Regions from separate parts of the Homo sapiens genome. Here all the other regions are linked to region 1. The links are contacts of gene promoters, found by promoter capture Hi-C in blood cells and fetal thymus (Javierre and others, 2016). All regions are on one chromosome and are shown on one strand. The core of a region is centred on a gene start or on the middle of the fragment in contact, and the rest is flanking DNA. Distances in the headings are between cores, read along the strand shown.

Region 1 (4,602 bases), core at 428-2,927:
TTACACAGTAACGGAGGACACAAAGGCTCCCCGCTCTTGGTCCCGGGACCACCCATGGCGCAGGCTGAGCGCTGGCCGCCCGTGCCCTCCGACTCCTCGCGTGTTTCCACACTGCTATCTCCGCGCGCACTCTCTCTTCCCGCAGAAGAACCCCACGCCAGGCTCCGGGAGGACAAACAAGGGGAGCCTCCGCCACCAGGTGAGTTTTCTCCTCCAGGAGATGGCTCCTCCACGCTGCCCGGCGGTGACCCCGCGTGCCTGCTCAAGTCCTGCTCCCCCGGCTTGGGGACACGCTCCTCTCCAGCTGCGGCCGGCGGAGGCGCCACCTCCGGGTCGCCCAGGGTGGTGACCCCGGAGCCCGCAGCCCCAGCCACGCAGGTATCGTGGCCTCCGTCCTCCGCGCGACTCCTCGCGGGTCCCGCCTCCCCCTCGCGAGCGGAAGCGCAGGCCTGGCCGTCAGTTCCGGACCGGTCCGCGGACTCTTCCGGCGCGGCGGCGGCGACGGCGACAGCGGGCTCCCGGCGCGCGGCCGGCAGCACCACTGGCAGCGTAACCACCAGCTGCCGCCGGGCCTTGTTGAATTGTGCCTTGCCGCGGCCATCGTCCACTGGGTACGGGAGCGAGAGCCGCAGCCGGTAGTCAGGTTTCCTCGAGTCGAGGCACAGCAGCTTTCTCGTTACCTCCAGCGCCGCCTGCTCGGCCGAGCGCAACAGCGGCAGTTCGATGGTGATCACCAGCTCATGGGGCACGGGGCTCGGGGCTGAGTCCCTGGAGCAGCGGTAATCCTGGAGGTCCACGTGGTGGCGCTGCACCACGCTGTAGCGAGGCTCGGTGGGGGCGGGCTGCAAGGCCGCTTCCGGAGGGGAGGGCGCCCGGGGCCCGGGGGCTGCCGGGTACTGGTAAGGGTAGGGGAAGTCCGGGAGAGGACCCTTCGGCTCCCCGTCAGGCCTTGCGGGGATGACCCCGGGCAGGGGCGTGCGCAGCACCGCAGCCTCTGGGGTCCCCTTATACTTGGCCTTCAGGGTCTTGGCATTCCTGCGGTCCAGCTTCACGCCGAACTGCTTCTCGACGGCCTCCAGGGCCGTGGCGTCCAGCATCTGGCGGAAGCCCTCGTGCCGCCGGGCCAGCGCAAGCGCGTCTGGATGGAAGACCACGTCGTAGACCATGTAGCGGCTGCTGCTGCGCCCCGCGTACTCGCGGCCGGGCGCCAGGCTGTAGGGCAGGGACCAGTGGCTGCCAGGAGCTGCGCCCCGGTCGCCACCGGAGCCGGGCCGGCTGCTGGGCGCGCCCACCAACGCGTTGCTGCAGACATTCACAAAGCAGCGCCGCGCCCCGTCCAGGCTGGTGCGCAGCACATGGCCGGGCTCCGGGTGCACGAACCGCACTTCCACCCCGCGCTCACGCTCTAGCGCGGTGATCTCCGCCTCGTAGCGCCGCCGGTTCTCCGGGTCGGTGAGCTCCTCGGCGTACTGGGAGAACATTCGCCGGAACTCCGGGTCCTGGAAGGCGGAGGTGAGCCGCTGGACCTCCTCTCCGCTCAGGTCCAAGTCCTCCAGCGACGAGGAGGCCGCCGCTTTGGCCATACTGTCCTGTGGCTCCTCGCCCTCGGGCCAAAGGCGATCAGTCTGACACTGGGTTGGGGGATCCGCCTCAGAGTTTCTGGGCAGCGTACAGTGACGCGGTGGAGGTCGGTAACGGCTGGAAAATTGAGCCTTGAGCAGCGCGTGCTTGTTGTCATAGTTACACCACTAACATTCGGGAGGAGGGGTAGAGATCATGGTGGAATAGGCCGGGCGCGGTGGCTCAGGCCTGTAATCCCAGCACTTTGGGAAGCCTAGGCGGGCGGATCACGAGGTCAGGAGATCGAGACCATCCTGGCTAACACGGTGAAACCCCGTCTCTACTAAAAATACAAAAAATTAGCCGGGCATGGTGGCGGGTGCCTGTAGTCCCAGCTACTCGGAAGGCTGAGGCAGTAGAATGGGGTGAAACCCAGGAGGCAGAGCTCTTGCGGTGAGCCAAGATCGCGCCACTGCACTCCGGCCTGGGCGACAGAGCAAGTCTCTCAAGGAAATCATGGTGGAATAGTGGAAATGCCAGAAATAGCCCTCTTAGATTCTTCAAACCAACCCACCACCGTACTTTGTTTTGTTTTGTTTTGTTTTTCTTTTTTTGAGACAGAGTCTCGCTCTGTCACCCAGGCTGGAGTGCAGTGGCGCAGTTTCGGCTCACTGCAAGCTCCACCTCCCAGGTTCACGCCACTCTCCTGCCTCAGCCTCCCGAGCAGCTGGGACTACAGGCGCCTGCCACTACGCCCAGCTAATGTTTTGTATTTTTACTAGAGACAGGGTTTCACCGTGTTAGCCAGGATGGTCTCGATCTCCTGACTTCGTGATCCGCCCGCCTCGGCCTCCCAGAGTGCTGGGATTATAGGATTACAGGCATGAGCCACCACACCAGGTCCAAAACCTTTTTTTTTTTTTTTTTTTTTTTGAGGCTGTCTCACTCTGTCACCCAGGCTGGAGTGCAGTGGTGCAGTCTTGGCTCACTGCAACCTCCGCCTCCCGGGTTCAGGCAATTCTCCCTGCCTCAGCCTCCCAGGTAGCTGGGATTACAGTGACTCACCACCACGTCCGGCTAAGTTTTGTATTTTTAGTAGGGATGGGATTTCACCATGTTGGCCAGGCTGGTCTCCCACTCTTGACCTCATGTGATCTGCCCACCTCAGCCTCCCAAAGTGCTGGGATTACAGGCATGAGCCACCGCGCCCGGCCTAAAACCTTTCTAATGTGCATATTTTTTTGACCCAAATGCCCTTAGAGTATTTGACACAATACTCTTAGAACATTCTCAAGGTGACATCATTTATGATTCTAAAGGTTTGAGAAGAATCTACAAATTCAACAATGGAACTGATTGAGCAGGTTTTGGTAGAGCCACGCAACAGAGTTTTGTGCAACCATTCAAAATGATCATATGGAAGTATATTTATTTACTGGAGTAATTATTTATTCATTGGTAATTGGTCAATTCAGTGATCATTTTTCTATTCTCAGCAACATTTAACACAGTTGATGTTGGCATTACCTCAGTGACAAGACACTTTCCAGATTTCTCTTCTGTCTCATCACTCTCATAGTTTTGCTCTGTAGGTATCTACTTCTTTTCAACTTCTACATGGAAATGCCCCAAAACTGGGACCCAATCTCTTACCCATCTATACTCTCCTTCAGAAATATATTTACACTCACAAATACTTGTCTTAGACTCAGATTTTACACTCCTATATCCAGCTGCACGTTTGAGGTGTCCATTTGAGTGATTAATGCATAAGCTACTCAGGCTTGAAATGACCAAGATCAGAACTCCTGAATCCTCTTTTCCCAAACCACTGCCTTATCTTATGGTCTCTTGGAAGCATTCAAAGCAGTTGACTGCCCCTTCGAAACACATTTTTCTCATGTTTTGCAGAACTCCAAGCTCTCCCATTTTCCTCCTTTATGCTCCTGCCAGTTCTGCAAATGTGGGAGTTGCCCAAGGCTTTGTTCATCAGCCCTCTTACCTAATCACATTTCTTCCAAGATGTCTTATCCAAGCCCATAGTTTTAAATGCCATCTGTGTTCAAATTAGTCCTTTCAACAGATATTTATTGTGTGCTTATTGCACTTATTATATAGGTAATTAACAAAGATGTGAAGCAGTTGCATTGCTTTTTTTTTTGAGACAGAGTCTTGCTCTGTCGCCTAGACTGGGGTGCTTTGGCGCGATCTTGGCTCACTGCAACCTCCGCCTCCTGGGTTCAAACAATTCTCCTGCCTCAGCCTCCCAAGTAGCTGGGATTGCAGGCACCTACCACTGCGCCCAGCTAATTTTTGTATTTTTTAGTAGAGATGGGATTTCACCATGTTGGTCAGGCTGGTCTCCAACTCCTGAGCTCAGGTGATCCGCCCACCTCGGCTTCCCAAAGTGCTGGGATTACAGGCACAAGCCACCATGCCCAGCCAGCAATTGCACTTTCATATCCTGGGAGTATATATTGGAACACTGTTAACATAAGGCTTACGACAATGAAATTCTCCCAGATACACATTCAACAGAAACACATATCCCCACCAAAACACATGTACTACAATGTGTGTATTCATAGCGGCACTATTTCATAGTTGACAAATTCTGGAAGCAACCCAAATTCTCATTCATAGTAGAATGGATAAATGTAAATATCCACCCACACAATGCACTACTCAACAGTATAGATGAGTATCATTAACATAATGGTGCTTGAAAGAAACCAGATGTAAAATAATACATATGACTCTGTCATATAATAGACAAAACATGGCAAAATAAATCTGTTAAGCCAAGCTAGTGATGGCCATGTTGGGAGAGCTTCTGGGTGAGGGTCTGTTAATCTTGGTTACATTGGGTGTGCAATTTGTGAAATTCATTGTGCTGTACGCTGACAGTAGATTTTATGTATCTTATACTTTTAGAGTTAAAAAATGTACTTTTTTTTTTTTGAGACAGAGTCTCCCTTTGTTATCTAGGCTGCAGTGCAGTGGCACAATCTCAGCTCATTGCAACCTCCGCCTCCCAGGTTC
Region 2 (4,602 bases), core at 636-3,135, 510 kb after region 1:
CGTGGTGGCGGGTGCCTGTAGTCCCAGCTACTCGGGAGGCTGAGGCAGGAGAATGCCATGAACCTGGGAGGTGGAGCTTGCCGTGAGCCGAGATTGTGCCACTGCACTCCAGCCTGGGTGACAGAGCGAGACTCTGTCTCAAAAAAAAAAAAAAAAAAAAAAAAAAAAAATTCTGGTCAAGTGCAGTGGCTCACACCTGTAATCCCAGCACTTTGAGATGTTGGGGTGGGAGAATAGTTTGAGGCCAGGAGTTCGAAACCAGTCTGCGCAACATAGCAACGCCCAATCTCCACATAAAATTTAAAAAATTAGCTGAGCAGGGTGGCACGTGCCTATAGTCCCCACTACTCAGGAGACTAAGGTAGGAAGACTGTTTGAGCCTGGGAATAGGAGGCTGCAGTAAGCTATGATCATGCCACTGTACTCCAGCCTGGGTGACAGAGCATGACCCTGTCTCTAAGGGTCACTGAAAACAAAATAATTCTAATATACATCTAGCAAAAGAGGTATGCGATCTCTGTCAAAACAAAAAAAACCCCACAAAACTTTATTAACTGAGTAAATAAAGAGATAAACGATGTTCACAGTTGAAAAGACTTGTTACTATAAAAATGTCAGTTCTTCACTAATCTGTAATTGGATTTAGAGAGCCAATGCAACTCCTATCAAAATGCCAATTTAAAAAAATGGAGCTTAAATTGATTCTAAAATGTATATAGGAGAACAAAGAACCAAGAATACGTTCCTCCTGAAAAAGAGTAAGATTGGCGAGGATTTGCCCTACTCTTCTCTATCAAGGACTACTATAAAGTTATGATAGTTTAGACTAGTGGCACTGGCACAAGAGTGATCAAATAGATCAAAGGAACAGAACAGAGAGACCAACAAAAGGCCTACAGATATAGGCATTCAATTTATGACACATTTATTAAATACATTAATATTTCTTTTTTTTTTTTTTTGAGATGGAATCTTGCTCTGTCGCACAGGCTGGAGTGCAGTGGTGCGATCTCGGCTCACTGGAACCTCTGCCTCCCGGGTTCAAGTGATTCTCCTGCCTCAGCCTCCCAAGTAGCTGGGATTACAGGCGCCCGCCAGCATGCCTGGGTAATTTTTATATTTTTAGTAAAGACGGGGTTTCATCATGTTGGCCAGGCTGGTCTCAAACTCCTGGCCTCATGTGATCCACCCACCTCAGCCTCCCAAAGTGTTGGGATTACAGGCATGAGCCACTGCCCCCGGCCTATTTCATAATATTTGACTAAGTATTAATATCTTTAACATATAAAGTTCATACAAATCAATAAAATGCAAACACCCAAACAGAAAAATATATGTATAAAGCAGTTTTTCCTCTATTCCCCTCTAATAACAACCCACTAAAAAAAATAAATAAATAATGTTAAAAGAGGAGTATGTAACCTCCCACATTATTCTCAATACTTATCCAGTTCCACTTAGAGGTTTGGGGTTTGCTCTGCTTTGTGATACTAAAATGGAATAATATTATAGTCATTCTGAAGCTTTTCCCCTGCTGAAATATCACAAATGTTCTTCCACAACAATACACATAGATCCCATTCACTTTGTTGTATAGCTGAACAATATTCTACAATAGAGGTATAAGAGGATGTATTTAATCATTCTCTTACTGATAGACATTCAGGTTGTTTCCTGTTTTCTGCTACTACAACTAATGCTGCAGTAACTATATCTTTGTACATATAACTTTATACTCTGGTGTGTTTATTTCTTTGCAATTCTGGGTCCTAAGAGTATGCACATTTTTAATTTTAACATATATTGTTAGACTGCTTTCCAGAAAGATTGTAAAAACGCACATTCCCAAAAGCAGTATTTATATGGCTGAGTTTCTAACTTGTTATCCTTTACTTAAAAAAAGTCTTTCCAGGTACAAAAGCAAAGGAAGAAACCATAAGTGAAGAGACTGATATGTGCAACTAAATAAAAATGATAAAACGTCCTTATGTCAAAGCATTATACATTTTTTAAATTAAAAAGCAGATAAAAGACAAACAGAAATGAGAATATATGTACAGTCTAAGTTTTAATATCTTTAATATATGAAAAATCCATATAAATGAATAAAATGCAGCTGGACATGCTGACTAATGCCTGTAATCGCAGCTACTCAAGAGGCTGGGACAGGACGATCCCTTGAGCCCAGGAGTTCGAGACTGCAGTGGGCTATGATCATGCCACTGGCACTCCAGCCTGGGTGACAGAGCAAGCTTGACTCTTTAGGAAAAAAAAAAAAAAAAAATCAACAAAATGAAAACACCCTCCCCCAAAAATGAGAGAGGCAATGAATACATAAATCATAAAGTACCCAATAAATACATATTCAACCTCACTAGTTATTATTTATTTTGAGAACAAGTTTCACTCTGTTGCCCAGGCTAGAGTGCAGTGGGGCAATCTTGGCTCACTGCAACCTCCACCAGGCAGGTTCAAGCGATACCCCTGCCTCAGCCTCCTGAGTAGCTGGGATTGCAAACCAGCACATACCACCATGCCTGACTAATTTTTGTACTTTTAGTAGAGATGGGGTTTCATCATGTTAGCCAGGCTGGTATCGAACTCCTGACCTCAGGTGATCCACCCGCCTCGGCCTCCCAAAGTGCTAGGATTACAGGTGAGCCACTGAGCCCAGCCTCACTAGTTATTTTTTAACATACAATTTAAAAATGCAGTGCGATTTCTGCCCCCGCCAGAGGCATGCAACACCATGCCTGGCTATTTTTTTTTTTTTTTTGTAGAGATGTGGTCTCCCTATGTTGCCCAGGCTGGTCTCAAACTCCTGGGCTCAAGTGATCCTCCTGTCTCTGCCTCCCAAAGTGTTGGGATTACAGGTGAGAGCCCCCACACCTGGCCAAAAGCTTTTAATATAATACATAATACCAAGGGGCATTTATCGTATCCTGCTACGAAACACCTTGGCAAAAGTATTTAAAGTCTTAAAGTATATAAATACTCAGACCCAGGATTTCCACCCCTAGATTATTTCTAGGGAAATAATCAAGCTCTTAAAAAGACTTCTACATATGAATATTCCATGATAAATTATCACAGAAAAAAATCAGAAATAACTTAATTGTCCCACAATCTACTGTTGGAATAAATTATGATTTATCCATGATAGAAAACCTTGATGCCATTAAAATCTTGTTTTTGAAGATAAGCTAATAAAAAAATAGAAAACTGTTTATGAGAAAAGGGCCATAAAAATCTATGCACAATGTAATCTCAATTTTGTTATTAAAATATATATGCAAAATATCTTCCTATTTTCTATATCTCCTGAATTTTCAATAGTACATGTTAAACACATATTTTATAATTTAAAAAATATATATATTTTTTAATTTTTTGAGACTGAGTCTCACTGTGTCGCCCAGCCTGGAGTGCAGTGGTGTGATCTCAGCTCACTGCAAATGCTGCCTCCTGAGTTCAAGCAATTCTCCTGTCTCAGCCTCCGAAGTAGCTGGGATAACAGGCGTGCGCCACCATGCCCAGCTAATTTTTGTATTTTTAGTAGAGATGGGGTTTCGCCGCGTTGTCCAGGTTGGTTTCGAACTCCTGAGCTCAGGTGATCGACCCGCCTCAGCCTCCTAAAGTGCTGGGATTACAGGCGTGAGCCACCACGCCTGGCCAAATTTAAGTTTTTGAAATAGTTCTTCCCGTGTTATACTATTGTTGACTACCTAAAGGTAATTAAGACATTACTTGTATTTTTATATTTAAAATCCTTTGTCATTTGAGACTATCAATCAATGTGTTATTGAATAAATCCACTTGGAACTTCATTACATTTAGGTTAAGTACATTACACGGCAGTGCAAGTCTCATATTGTTTATTGAATATTGATATATTTTCTAATATAAGCCTAGGATTCACATATTATATATCATATTCATATATTAACTAATATATCAACATATTTTCTAATATATTTATATCATATTTATGAAGCAAGGATGAATTTACAAAGAATTTAATTAAAAAGACAGATGATAGATGAAATTTCTTTTATGCTAATTTCATCATCCCCGAGAAAAATGAAAAAGTTAAGCCTAAAACTTACCTCAAAGGTATGGTCTAGTCTGTATACTGACACTGAATTTACTGCACTGACTATCTCCAATACGCCATTGAAATTATTCAAATCTTGAAAAACTTGCAGAATTTCTATAATTCTACTTAGTACTGCCACCCGTTCTTCAAAATTTTCTGCTTCCACAATGCATCTAACAACAACAAAAATTCATGGCTTAGAAAAGTTTCTTCACCTCACTTAGAAAACAAGATAATTATGAGTAGCCAGAATTTTAGCTTAAATATGACTTAATATTATGGCTATTAGGAGGTAGTAAGAGTAAATTAAAACTTACTTTTCAAACCAGAGGGTGAGATTTGTGGTATGGCGAATCATTTTTAATAAATTTGGAGAATTTATTTCTTTATCTTCTTTGGTCCACACACTCCCTACAAGTTCAGACGGTTGAACTTTCCTATGGAATTGAAAATCAGTGCAACTTAACCTATAAAGGATTTGTATTACTTAAAGATCTTCTAAAACT
Region 3 (4,602 bases), core at 549-3,048, 460 kb after region 1:
ACATGTGCACAACGTGCAGGTTTGTTACATAAGTATACATGTGCCATGTTGGTGTGCTGCACCCATTAACTCATCGTTTAACATTAGGTATATCTCCTAATGCTATCCCTCCTCCCTCCCCCGACCCCACAACAGGACCCTGTGTGTTGTGTTCCCCTTCCTGTGTCCAAGTGTTATCATTGTTCAATTCCCACCTATGAGTGAGAACATGCGGTGTTTGGTTTTCTGCCCTTGCGATAGTTTGCTGAGAATGATGGTTTCCAGCTTCATCCATGTCCCTACAAAGGACATGAACTCATCCTTTTTTATGGCTGCATAGTATTCTATAGTGTATATGTGCCACATTTTCTTAATCTAGTCTATCATTGATGGACATTTGGGTTGGTTCCAAGTCTTTGCTATTGTGAATAGTGACCTGGCCAGTTTTAAAACTTGCTCTCCTGGCCAGGTGCAGTGGCTCATGCCTGTAATCTCAGCACTTTGGGAGGCTGAGGTAGGAGAATCGCTTGAGCCCAGGAGTTCAAGACTAGCCTAGGCAAAGTAGCAAGACCTCATTTTGTTGTTGTTGTTGTTGATTTGTTTGTTTTAATAAGTTTTAAAAAAGAAAAAAGGCCAGGCACAGTGGCTTACACCTGTAATCCCAGCACTTTAGGAGTCCGAGGCAGGTGGATAGGCCAAGGCAGGCAGATCACCTGAGGTCGGGAGTTCCAGACCAGCCTGATCAACATGCAGAAACTCTGTCTCTTCTAAAAATACAAAATTAGCTGGGCATGGTGGCACATGCCTGTGATCCCAGCTACTCAGAAGGCTGAGGTAGGAGAATCATTTGAACCCAGGAGGCGGAGGTTGCGGCAGTGAGCCGAGATTGCGCCATTGCACTCCAGCCTGGGCGACAAGACCGAAACTCTGTCTCAGAAAAAACGAAAAGAAAAAACAAAACAAACAAACAAAAAAACACTTGCTCTCCAGATGGCAAACCTCACTGCCCAAGTACCTCTCCTAATACATGTTGCAATTCTCCCTCCACTTCTCAGGAACCCCCATAATCATGGGGGTTAGAACCAAGCCCCAGAATCTACCTCCTTATGTAAGCTACTCATTTTCTCATCTCTTGAGTTATTCTCACTAAATAATGATCCCTTGATTGGGGGATGGAGAGGTGCAGGCTTGAACACTTTCTGGGTGCAAAGAAGTACATTTCCTCTTTTGTTACATTTAAATCAAACCACTCCCACAGCAGGTTTTTGTTTCCTCCCTTTTACTTTCTGATGAGTTTCATAACGCTTACTTTTGTAGTTTGATAAGATCTCCACAGTATGATCAGCAACCAACACTATTCTAGAAAGCTTCTAAATCAACTGTTAAGATGATCTGGTGGGTATTATGGACAAAATGCAAACTTAAAAAGCAGATTACTTTCTGGGAAGGTAATGATTGAGAAGGATCTTAAGAGTAGGGTTTAATGGGCTGAAAGGTTTGAATGCTCTACCAGTTAGGATCTGATCCACTGCAAGGGAGAGAAACCCAGCCCCAAACCAGCAGAACAGAGTTAACTAGGTGAGGTAACTGGGAAGTCCAGGAGCTGCGGTGGCTTTAGACATAGCTGGCTTCAGAGACTCAAACAGAATCATCGGAAAAACGTTCTAATTTCTCTGTTTGCTTCTAGACTCTGCTTTCCTCTATCTTGACTTTTACTCTTGAGCAGCTCAAAACTTACTTTATCCTTGGCACTAGCTACCCCAGAAAAGAAGGGCCTCTTATGCAGGGGGAATCCTGTGGGTTAGCCTCGGTCAGGAAACCCAAGTCTCTCCTGAACTTGGTGGGCTATTGGGAGTAGCATGATGAAAAGTCTGGAACCCCAGGTTAGGAGTACGCTCTGCCACCACCGCCTGCACAGATAAGTGTAGAGAGATATTGAAGGTGGGGAGACTATTAGAGGAGTGAGGCCCAACCTGAGGTGATGATGGCCGTGAAGATGGAAAGTGGGGGAAGACTGTGAGAACCCATCACAGATCAGTGTATGACACGCTGAGTTCATGTGAGGCAGAAGAAATTAGAAATGCTAAAAGAATGGTGATGCCATTAGTAAAACAAGAATATGAGGCAGAAGAGTCTATTTTTGCAGAAATTTTGCTAAGACATACTCTTGGTTGGGCAAGCAAAGGAAGACATCAGGCAGGCAGCTGAAGGGGAGAGGTCAGACTTAAGAGAGGGATCGGAGCTAGAGGTCTAGAGAGGGGGCCTCTACAATAAGCTTGTAGTTGGAATCATGAAAATTGCAAGATCTATGTGTGCAGAGGTGAGTGGTCAAAAGACAGAGCCCCAGGGAATTGTGAGTTAAGCAACAGAGAAGGAAAAGGAACGAAGGATGGTGACGGAGGAGCAACCAGACGCTGGGCGGAGAAAGTCAGACCTACTTAAGTCAAATAGGAGAAAAGTTCCAGTATCAAAAAGAAAAAGAAATAGATCCACATGTTCAACAATATTTCCAATATTGGTTCTATACTCATATTTTCCTCATTCCTTTTCATAAGTGAACTCACAATCAAACTAAGTCCAACGAGCAGCTATTGAGGCTACAAGATTTACTGCTTTCTGAATACCAGTGGCTTCCATCCTAAGTTGTATTCATCTGAGACCTGAGTTGCTTATCATTAGTAACAACATATTCATTTTGGGGTCTTCTCTCATTTTTTTTAGAACAAGGACCAGGTATTAAAACAGCTGCCCAAGTACCAAGGTGCAAAGATGGCACTGCTGCAGATAGCTAAGCTGCTAAGCAGGCAGCATCATTATGTTGACTTGGGGGCAGATGTATAAAATCTAATCCTGGCAGATGAAAGTCAGGTTGGAAGTCTCAGTGTATGAAATACAAAAATGGGAGCTATATGACCATCAACCTGTTTGAGAACTGACTGTCCCTGGAGTCAAGGCAGAAGATATTTCAGTATTTCACCTTTAAGTGTTCTGTTTTTTTCCAATAATTCCTTGAATTTTGGTACTTCCCAGGGCCTTAACCTGGGCTTTCCCCCAATCTATACATTTGGGGTGATCTATAAGACCTCAACTTGGCTGGGCACGGTGGCTCACGTCTGTAATCCCAGCACTTTGAGAGGCTGAGGCAGGTGGATGGCCTGAGGTCAGGAGTTCGAGACCAGCCCGGACAACATGGCGAAACCCCGTCTCTACTAAAAATACAAAAATTAGCCGGGTGTGGTGGCACGCGCCTGTAATCCCAGCTACTCAGGAGGGTGAGGCAGGAGAATCGCTTGAATCTGGGAGACAGAGGTTGCAGTAAGCCAAGATAGCACCACTGCACTCCAGCCTGGGCTACAGAATGAGACTCTGTCTTGCCAAAAAAAAAAAAAAAAAAAAAGAAAAGACATCATCTTTCTCAGTCCACCCTCTCTTCTGCCCCCAAACCTATATACGGTCATCCCTCAGTATCCATGGGGAATTGATTCCAGGACCACCCACAGATATCAAAATCCACAGATGTTCAAGTCCTTTGTATAAAATAGTGTAGTATTTGCATATAACCTATACACATCCTCCCATATAGCTTATTACTTTTTTATTGGACTGAATTTATTTTTTTATCTTCAGCTTTTAAATTCAGGGGTACATGTGCAGGATGTGCAGGTTTGTTGCATAGGTAAACGTGTGTCATGGTGGTTTGCTGCACAGATCATCCCATCACCTAGGTATTAAGCCCAGCATCCATTTGCTATGTGTTTGCCCTCCACACCCACCCCCTACCCCCATATAGTTTAAATCATCTCTAGACTACTTATAATACCTAATACAATGTAAATGTTATGTAAATAGTTGTTATACTGTCTTGTATAGGGAATAATGACAAGAAAAACTCCGTCTGTACATGTTCAGTACAGACACAACCATCTATTTTTTTTCCCGAATATTTTCAACCTGTGTTTGGTTGAAACCCATGGAACTCACATATACAGAGGACCGCTTGTGTTTAGCTGCCTATTACATACATGTAACCAGGGTCACAGTGTGTGGCCACTCAGGCTGGGTACAGCAAAGAGCAACATTGGAAGGGGACACCATTCACACTGTAGACATCATTATTGTTTTGAAGTTAAAACCAAAAATTAAAACAGTTGATTCCAAACTTACATGATTTATATACAGGACAATTTTCTGGCAAAGGACAGTAAAGTCTCTAGTTCTAATAAAATTAATGTTATTACAATTCTTTTCAAAATAAAAGTGTTTTAAAGAAAAGGGACTCTGACCTGCAGAAGGGCAGCATGAGGACCGTGGAGGCCTTGACCCCATCAGGATGCACCGCGGGCCCCTACACAACTTACTGTATCTGCCTTAGTCTAGCTCCACAGCAGTTCTCAGATCCCGTCCTCTTCATTCCTACTGCTACTACCAGAGTTCAGACCCCACTCCTCAACATCTCTTACCTGTTCATTCTTCCTTCCTGATCTCTTTGCCTCATGTCTTGCCCCTCTCCTGCCCACTCTCCAAATTTGCTGTCAGAATAATCTTTCTAAAATGATTTGGCCAAGTGGCTACCCTACTTAAAGTATTGAAATATCCTCTCATTGCCTCCAGAATCCATCTGCA

What was found. Contacts are between HindIII fragments. The CHiCAGO score rates a contact against its expected background, and 5 or more counts as called.
Region 2: a contact is called between a fragment that was not itself captured here and the fragment with the promoter of DNAAF2 in region 1, in 1 of 17 cell types (erythroblasts). The highest score is 6.1, in erythroblasts.
Region 3: a fragment that was not itself captured here is called in contact with the fragment with the promoter of DNAAF2 in region 1 in 2 of 17 cell types (fetal thymus and naive CD8 T cells); the score reaches 6.6 in fetal thymus.

What each region holds. Positions count from the first base shown.
Region 1 is chr14:49,633,567-49,638,168 of GRCh38, forward strand. DNAAF2 (dynein axonemal assembly factor 2) reads right to left here and starts at 1,678. Exons shown (of 3, transcript NM_018139.3): 1 at 1-1,678. The coding sequence starts at 1,583. RefSeq lists silencers at 240-509, 780-1,019, 1,250-1,299 and enhancers at 510-749, 562-1,322. The HindIII fragment of the contact is 6,803 bases long and covers 1-4,602 here.
Region 2 is chr14:50,141,064-50,145,665 of GRCh38, forward strand. It overlaps SOS2 (SOS Ras/Rho guanine nucleotide exchange factor 2), which reads right to left. Exons shown (of 23, transcript NM_006939.4): 15 at 4,414-4,533; 16 at 4,107-4,269. Among named protein-coding and RNA genes, the nearest start is that of VCPKMT, 27 kb to the left of the region's middle. The HindIII fragment of the contact is 729 bases long and covers 1,522-2,250 here.
Region 3 is chr14:50,094,853-50,099,454 of GRCh38, forward strand. All of the region lies in intron 1 of LINC01599 (long intergenic non-protein coding RNA 1599), which reads right to left. Among named protein-coding and RNA genes, the nearest start is that of LINC01599, 7.9 kb to the right of the region's middle. The HindIII fragment of the contact is 908 bases long and covers 1,345-2,252 here.